Linked DNA regions of Homo sapiens: region 2 is linked to region 1. Evidence: promoter capture Hi-C in 16 types of primary human blood cells and fetal thymus (Javierre and others, 2016). All regions are on one chromosome and are shown on one strand. Each heading gives the region's core, a stretch centred on a gene start or on the middle of the fragment in contact. The rest is flanking DNA. Distances are from core to core; before and after follow the strand shown. Region 1 holds the start of NOPCHAP1 (NOP protein chaperone 1). Region 2 overlaps CHST11 (carbohydrate sulfotransferase 11).

What was found. The method cuts DNA at HindIII sites, captures the fragments that hold promoters and counts their contacts. A CHiCAGO score of 5 or more calls a contact.
Region 2: a contact is called between a fragment that was not itself captured here and the fragment with the promoter of NOPCHAP1 in region 1, in 1 of 17 cell types (naive CD8 T cells). The highest score is 5.3, in naive CD8 T cells.

Annotation. Positions count from the first base shown.
Region 1 is chr12:104,984,375-104,988,401 of GRCh38, reverse strand. NOPCHAP1 (NOP protein chaperone 1) reads right to left here and starts at 2,086. Exons shown (of 4, transcript NM_152318.3): 1 at 1,935-2,086; 2 at 149-235. The coding sequence starts at 2,049. LOC105369952 (a long non-coding RNA gene) reads left to right here and starts at 2,032. Exons shown (of 2, transcript XR_007063436.1): 1 at 2,032-2,099; 2 at 3,979-4,027. RefSeq lists a silencer at 1,607-1,856 and enhancers at 1,409-1,919, 1,920-2,432. The HindIII fragment of the contact is 4,173 bases long and covers 1,181-4,027 here.
Region 2 is chr12:104,460,601-104,464,303 of GRCh38, reverse strand. All of the region lies in intron 1 of CHST11 (carbohydrate sulfotransferase 11), which reads right to left. Among named protein-coding and RNA genes, the nearest start is that of CHST11, 5.5 kb to the right of the region's middle. RefSeq lists an enhancer at 1,319-1,368. The HindIII fragment of the contact is 4,254 bases long and covers 327-3,703 here.

The DNA.
Region 1 (4,027 bases), core at 837-3,336:
CTGACTTTATCATGTAAATCCCAAGTAGGACTTGTTCCACTGGACTATCTGTGGTTTGATACCTGACAATGAAGGCAGAGACCGTCCCACAGCTTAATCAGACAAAACTCAGCATTAGAGAGGGTGAGAGAGGGGAAGAGGTACTTACAGGGACTCCTCTCTATCCGAACTGTTTGAAGAGTGGAGGTCTTTCTGGACTTAGGTTGGGAGTTGATGAGCAACCTGTCCCATATACCTGAAAATACAGACACACAAACACCCTTAATTTACTACAGCATAAAAAAACAAAGGCCCATCAGTAAGCCTCTCACATGACCAGTCTTAAGACTTGACTGTCCACACTCCCCCAAAATTTTTTTTTTAAAGGAGAACTCCAAGCTCCATTACAACATTTTAATTCTTTATGTACAGCCAGCCACCTCTCCTTTCTTACATCTGTCTCATTCACCTCTATCACCAATGGCAGGTAATAAATGCACACCAATCTGCACTTTTCTGGATCAGAAATTCATTAGCAGACAAACGTGGGTCTGCAATGACAGAACGGAGGAAACAGTACAGAGCATAACAATGGTTAAGTGAAGCCAGAAATGGTTACTAGTTGTGTAACACTGGGCAACTTACCTGATCTTCAAGCATTTGTTTCTTCATTAGTAAAACATGCTTGCCTGGTATTTCCCCTTCCCTGAAGACGTTCAACCCAAGGAAAGCAGCCTTTTGGGGATTTTGTCACCCACTCTACCTTTCCAGCCTCATTTCTCACTACTCAAATCATCCCAACTCTCTATCCCATCAGAGTTCCAAGAGGGGAACGTACAAAACTCAAGGCTTTGCACACCCTATTTCTAATACCCGGAAAATCCCTTAACTCTCTGGTTAAAAAACAAATCCTGTTCACCTGCAAAGCAGAGCCGCAACAAACATCCATTGAATGCCTACTACTTAAGGCCTACTGGATTCGTGATCAGAGCACAGAGTCTGGAGCCAGACTACTTGAATTCAAGTCCCAGTTTTGCTACTTTCTAGCCACATGATCTCCAGAAGGTAAATTACCTGTATGATAAATCATGTCTCAGGTTCCTCAACTATAAAACAGAGATAACAGATTTTCTGCAAAGGGTTGTTGTGAGGATTAGATGAGTTAGTTTCTGGGGCATACATAGTAAGGACTACATAAGCTTTGGTTATCATTATTATACTTCCTTCGGAATCTCTGGGTTCTCACAAAACCTTTTCTTCAAGCTAGTATTTACTGACAACATGCCCAAGCCTTTTTAGGCATTCTCCTCCTCACAAAAATTCTACAGGCATTACTACTATCACCATTTTCCAAATGCAAAAACTGAGGCTTAGGGAATGAAAATAACTCTAAGTCCCACCAGTTAATTACTAGTGGAGCTGGGATTCGAACTCGTGCTTTTAAATTCTACCTATAGTGTCTGAAATGCTGTGTGGATTTCCTGGATGCATGTCTCCCTCTACAAGACAGCAGCACTAAGGGGTGGTCTGTGTGGGTGTGAAAGAGGTAGGGACTGTTAGCATAATATTACTCCGCTTCCCCCTATCAGCCAACTGCTCCGACCCAGGCAGCCAAACCAAAAGCCCTCCCTTCCCCAAAAGAACTCGAGAGCTTCCCAGCTTCCAGGGCAGGGCAGATGCCTGGCAGCGGCGCCTGGCAGGGTGGGCGCTCACTACCTTGCAGAATATAAGAACCACTAGCTGGGGAAACCATTCCGGGCCCGCAGCCGGGTGCCCGCCCCAAAGCCCCCACCCCTGCCGCGGGCAGGGCACGCCGGAGCCCCGCAGCAGTCCCCGGGGCTCCCCTCGAGGGTACGGAGCCCGGGCAGGGAGCCACCGGCCGGCTCCCAAACTGCACCGGCCGCGCCTCCTCTGCCGCACGTGTGCGGCCCATGCCGCCGTCACCCGTCCGTCACCTCCGCGGCCGTCGCTTCCCGCCGTCAGCAGCTCCTTGGACACTGGGACTCCTGAGGAATCCCGGGTGGGCGACGAACAACTCGGGCTAGCCTTGGGCTTGCCATGGACCTCCATGCTTCCCTCAAGCCTGCACTCTCAGGCCCGGATGCAGGAAAAAGGCTCGGGTAAGGGGGCGGGGAGAGGGCCGCGATTGGAGGAAACTGCGGTGGGCGGAGTAAGGAGCGGAGAGAGAGGCGGGGCGAGCGTGGTGCAGCCTGGAGGCTGCGCGGGAGCAGGGGCCATTCCTACTCCTGGGAAAAAGAAAGGTTCAGACACTGTCATAGGAAAAAACAGCGGGCAAGGCTCGATTTCGCCAAATTCGGGCATAAAGAGCATAACATTAGGCTTCCCTCCTCTTTATCCTTTTTTATTAAATTTTTTTTTAATTGGTGAAAAAACACGTAACAAAATCTACCATCTTAACCATTTTTAGTTGTACAATTCAGTGGTGGCAGACCTCTAGATCATTTTCATCTTGCAAAACTGAAACCTTATACCCATTTACCCCTACTCCAGTCCCTTGGTAACCACCATTCTACTTTCTTCTTTGTTTCTTTCTTTTTGAAACAGCCTTGCTCTGTCGCCCAGGCTGGTGCCTCAGCCTCCCAAGTAGCTAAGATTACAGGTGCACACTACCACGCCCGGCTAATTTTTGTATTTTTGTATAGAGACGGGTTTTCACCATGTTGGCCGGGCTGATCTTGATTTCCTGACCTCGGGAGATCCACCCACCTTGGCCTCCCAAAGTGCTGGGATTACAGGCGTGAGCCATCATGCCCAGCTACCATCGTTCTACTTTCTGTTACTATGAGCTTGACTACTTCAGATACATTATGTAGGTGGAATCATACAGTACTTGCCTTTTTGTTACTAATTTCACTTAAAATAATACCCTCAAGGTTTAGACATGTTGTAGCACATAACAGGATTCTCTTCTTTTTTAAGCCTGAATAATATGCCATTGTATGTATATACCACATTTTCTTACCATTGATCTCTCAACAGGCGTGCTGGTTGCTTCCACCTCGTGGTCATTGTGAACGCTGCTGCAATGAACATGGTGGTACAAATATCTCTTAGAGACCCTGCTTTTCAATGCTTTGGGATACATACCCAGACATGGGATTACTGGATAATAGGGTAATTCTACTTTTTAGGTTTTTGTGAAGCCTCCGTATAGTTTTTCATAGTGGCTGCACCATTTTACATTCCCACAGTGCACAAGAGTTCCAATTTCTCCACATCCTTGTCAATATTTCCTTTTTCTGTTTGGTTGCTTCTTTCTTTTTGACAGTGAGCATCCCAGTGAGTGTGAAGTGATATCTTGAAGTTTTGGTTTGCATTTCTCTAATGATTTAGTGATGCTGAACACCTTTTCATGGGCTTGTTGGCCATTTATATATCTTCTTTGGAGAAATGACTATTCAACTCCTTTACCCATTTTTTAATCTGGTTATTTGTGTTTTTGTTGTTGAGTTGTAGGAGTTATTTATATATTCTGGATATTAACCCTTTATCGGATATATGATTTACAAATATTTTCTCCCATTCTGTAGGTTGCCTTTTCACTCTATTGCTTCCTTTCCTGTTTGTTCTTTTAACAGTCTTTATTGACCACCTGCAGTATGCCCAGACCCCTCTTATATAGGATTCAAAGCAGAAGCAGCAGAAACCTTGGACCAATCTTTTCTGCTTATTTCTGACAGTGCAGAGGCTCCAGAATCAGCCTGGAGTGGATTAAATCCAGTGTCATATTATTCATTTAGTAGCTGTGACTTTGGGCAGATCACTCCCTGAGCGTCTGTCCTTCTCTGCAGAATCAGGATAATAATACTTCATGGGGATGTTATAAGGAATAAAAGAGGAAAAGGAGTAAAATGTATGTAATGGCACTGGTGATACAGAATTATTGGGCTCCCAGCTAAACCCCACTCTAAAGCATGGAACTGTGGCCCTAAGTGACAATAGCTGACCCCATTTTTCGCCCAAATGTTGCCTTTTTAGCCTGCCATTCCCATATCCTGCGCCCATAAAAGGACCAGCTGACAGAGCA
Region 2 (3,703 bases), core at 1,204-3,703, 520 kb after region 1:
TTAAGGTCAGGAGTTCAAGACCAGCTTGGCCAACATGGCAAAACCCAGTATCTATTAAAAATGCAAAAATTAGCCAGGTGTGGTGGTGCATGCCTGTAATCCCAGCTACTCAGGAGGCTGAGGCAGGAGAATTGCTTGGGCCCAGGAGGCAGAGGTTGCAGTGAGCCCAGATTGCACCACTGCACTCCAGCCTAGGTGACAGAGCAAGACTCCACCTCAAAAAAAAAAAAAAAAAAGTGCAAGTAGGAGACTTCATTTTCAATCTTGCTACATTGCTTCCACCCTTATTCCTTGCCTCCCTGCCCCAAGAGACCTCTGCTCAAGCTTCTGCAGCGCTTCCCTCCCATCTACAGTTAAACCCAAGGCTCAAAACAATTGTCTCTCTCCGACTTGTCTCTCCCCACTGTGGTTGTTGGCTGCCTCCGTCCCTCTGCTCTGGGCACTCTGACCACCTTGCCATGCGTGTTCTTGCCTCAGGGACCAGATTTGACTTGTGTTGCTCTCTGCCTGGAACATGGCCGGCTCCTTCATTTCCTGCAGGTGTCTGCTCTCAGTGTCATCTTATCAATGACATTCCCTAATTACCTCTATATTATATTGCAACCCCTGCCTCTCACACCCCTCAACCATCTTCTCTGTTTTGTTTTTCTCTTAACACCATCTGATATACCATATATGTCACTTCTGCATTTGCTTAAAGTCTGTCCGCCCCACTAGAATCTAAGTTCCATGAAGGCAGAGATGTATGTATGTGTTACATCTCCAGTGCCAAGAACAGTATCTGGCACAGAGTAGAAGAAAGGAAAAGAGAGAGAGACAGACAGACAGGGGGCTGGGGAGGAGGAGAACAAGTCTGCTTGTAAGTTTCAATCACTCACATTGGATCTAAGATGCATCAAATTACAAGTTCTAGGAAATTTTAACTGACAGATCAGATTGTTCATAGGAAGAACTGCCTCCCCTTTTATTTGTTATAAAGGTGGTGTCCCAAAAATTCAAAAGAAAAACTAAAAAGAAAAAAAAATGAATCAGCAGAATGACTTCTGGTTTTCCTCAGAGTCTGAACTTAGAAGAGGCCTGCTGGCAATGACTTTCATGAGAGCCTTTTTCACTTGACCTCCAGACTAAAGAGAGGTCCTTTTGGTGGGTTTAAGAAGGGAAAGGGTGGTGCCTTTGCTTATGAGCCTTTGACTTCCTGTTTTGAAATGACTGTGCTGATAAAGCTATGAACAAAATGATCTTTCAACCAGACAAATACTGACAGCAGATACCTCTGCTGAAGGATGGATTCCCTCACCCCTCACCCCACGGAAACCCCCAAACCACCCTTTCTGTGGTGCCTGATCACCCCTTTTTATTTTGGAAGGCAATGAAAATGAGGACTGTAACAATCAAAGGAGATCACCTACATCTGTCTCATCTGAGCACAGCAATGAAAATGCTCCATCGAGGTGCAAACATTTAAATGATCAAGGAGAGACCCCATGCTAAAAATGTCTTCTCCTTCAGTTATTTTTTTACTTGTTAATTTTTATAGGTACATAGTAGTTGTATATATTTATGGGGTACATGAGATCCTTCAGTGATTCAATGCTGTTTTCAGAATTCATAACAGTCTCATATTTGAGACCCTCTTGACACCTTTTCAATGGAAGTTTCAGGTGTATAACATAAGAACAGCCCCTACAAATTGGTAAGACTCCAAACTATTCCATGTATAAGCAAAAAGATTCTGTAACGTAACATTAAATTTGTGCAACCACAGCAAAAAAAATAATACCAGACTGACATCCTGCAAAGGGGTAGGGTGGGAGGTGGAGACACATGCAAGTCTATACATTTAAACAGTTATGGTTAAACTTTGTCTTTAACTTTAATAACTAGTTGTGACAATGATGTATTTGTCTAAAATACTTATTATCAAACAGGATACAAAATGCATGATGTTATCTCAACTATGTATATGCATTTTGCATAGTTGAGAAAAATACAGAATATATAAATATATATAAATATATTCTATAATATATTTTTAAAGTACCAGTTGCCTCTTGGTGGTGGAATAATGATTGTTTTTCTTCTATACCTCCTAAATTTTCTTTTTTTCTTTTCTTTTTCTTTTTTTTTTTTTTTTTTGAGATGGTGTTTAACTCTTGTTGCCCAGGATGGAATGCAATGGCACAATCTCAGCTCACTGCAACCTCCGCCTCCCTGGTTCAAGTGATTCTGCTGCCTCAGCCTCCCAAGTAGCTGGGATTACAGGCGTGCACCACCACGCCCGGCTAATTTTTTTTGTATTTTTAGTAGAGACGGGGATTCACCATGTTGGTCAGGTTGGTCTCAAACTCCCAACCTCAGGTGATCCACCTGCCTTGGACTCCCAAAGTGCTGGGATTACAGGTGTGAGCCATCGCACCTGGCCACCTCCTAAATTTTCTAAAATGAGCACATGTTATGTTTACAATTCGTTTAAAATTATAATACAAAATGCATTTTAGGTTCAACCTGATCAAGTGAAAGTGCAAGGGGGTAAAATGAGACATCTTTAAATAAAGGATATAATCTTTCAATACATTCAACCGAGGCAAAGAAATCCCAGGTGACAGTGAAAATAAACATTTTGCAAAAATAAAAATAATAGAGAGGAAGCAGACAGGAGAGAAAAGGCTTTCTCCTCTGAAGGCTTCTTTCTATGAACAGTAGATTTCAAACAAAAACCACAATCCTATGGAGTAACACAAAAGGAAGGTTCTGAAGAGCTGCCTTTACACACTCTGTGCCAATGCAGCCTGGGGGGCCTCTCAGCTTTGCACTGCATGACACAGCTCCATCAAAACCCAGCCATCTGGGGCAGGTATGCAAGACATTTTAATGCAAGCTGATGAACTTGCATAGGAAGCATTCATTGGTGAACTCAAACCTGTGTAGAAATCACAGGTATATGGTTCCATTCTCCCTAGCTTTAGGAATAGTTCACGGCCATAGAAGGTGTCTGTTCTATGGATGGATTTCCTTAGAATCCATCTAAGTGGCTAAACAAGACCAACCTTCTCCAGAATCCAGGACACAGAGCAGTGCCTCAGCTGCCTACACCTCACGGGCTGCAAATTTAGGTCACGGTGAAAGCTCCTGTCTGGCGCCTGATTAGTTTAAACTGGGTCCGTGTCACAGTTCAGGAAGGCAGGAAGTTTCCCCACCAGACAGAGCCAGAGTTATTGACCAGGCATTCTTGGCAAGGCTAGAAGTGACCTTCCTGAAAACCAGAGAAGTGGGTCTACTTCTGGAGTTTAACCACTTCATGCATTCATCCAGCAAACATTCTATTGAGAACCCACTGTTGTCAGACACCGTGCAAAAAACATCGGGATTAAAATGGAGTCTAAAACCTGGTCCTTGCCCTATAAAATATTCTTAAGGAAGACTATTAACTCAGAGTATCAAAAACTTCTAAATGTAACTATCCTACTGACAAGGCCCACTTCTGCTAAACCCTTGTGCAACTGATGACCAATTACTCAAATTTGCAAATTAATCAATTCTATGAATTAGAAAAGATAATGGGCCCCAGATTAGAATCAGAGAGAGGGACAGCCAGCCTTGCCAGCTGTCTCCTTTTTGTCTCTTTTTTTTTTTTTTTTTTGAGACACAGTTTCACTCTGTCGCCCAGGCTGGAGTGCAGTGGTGCCATCTTAGCTCACAGCAA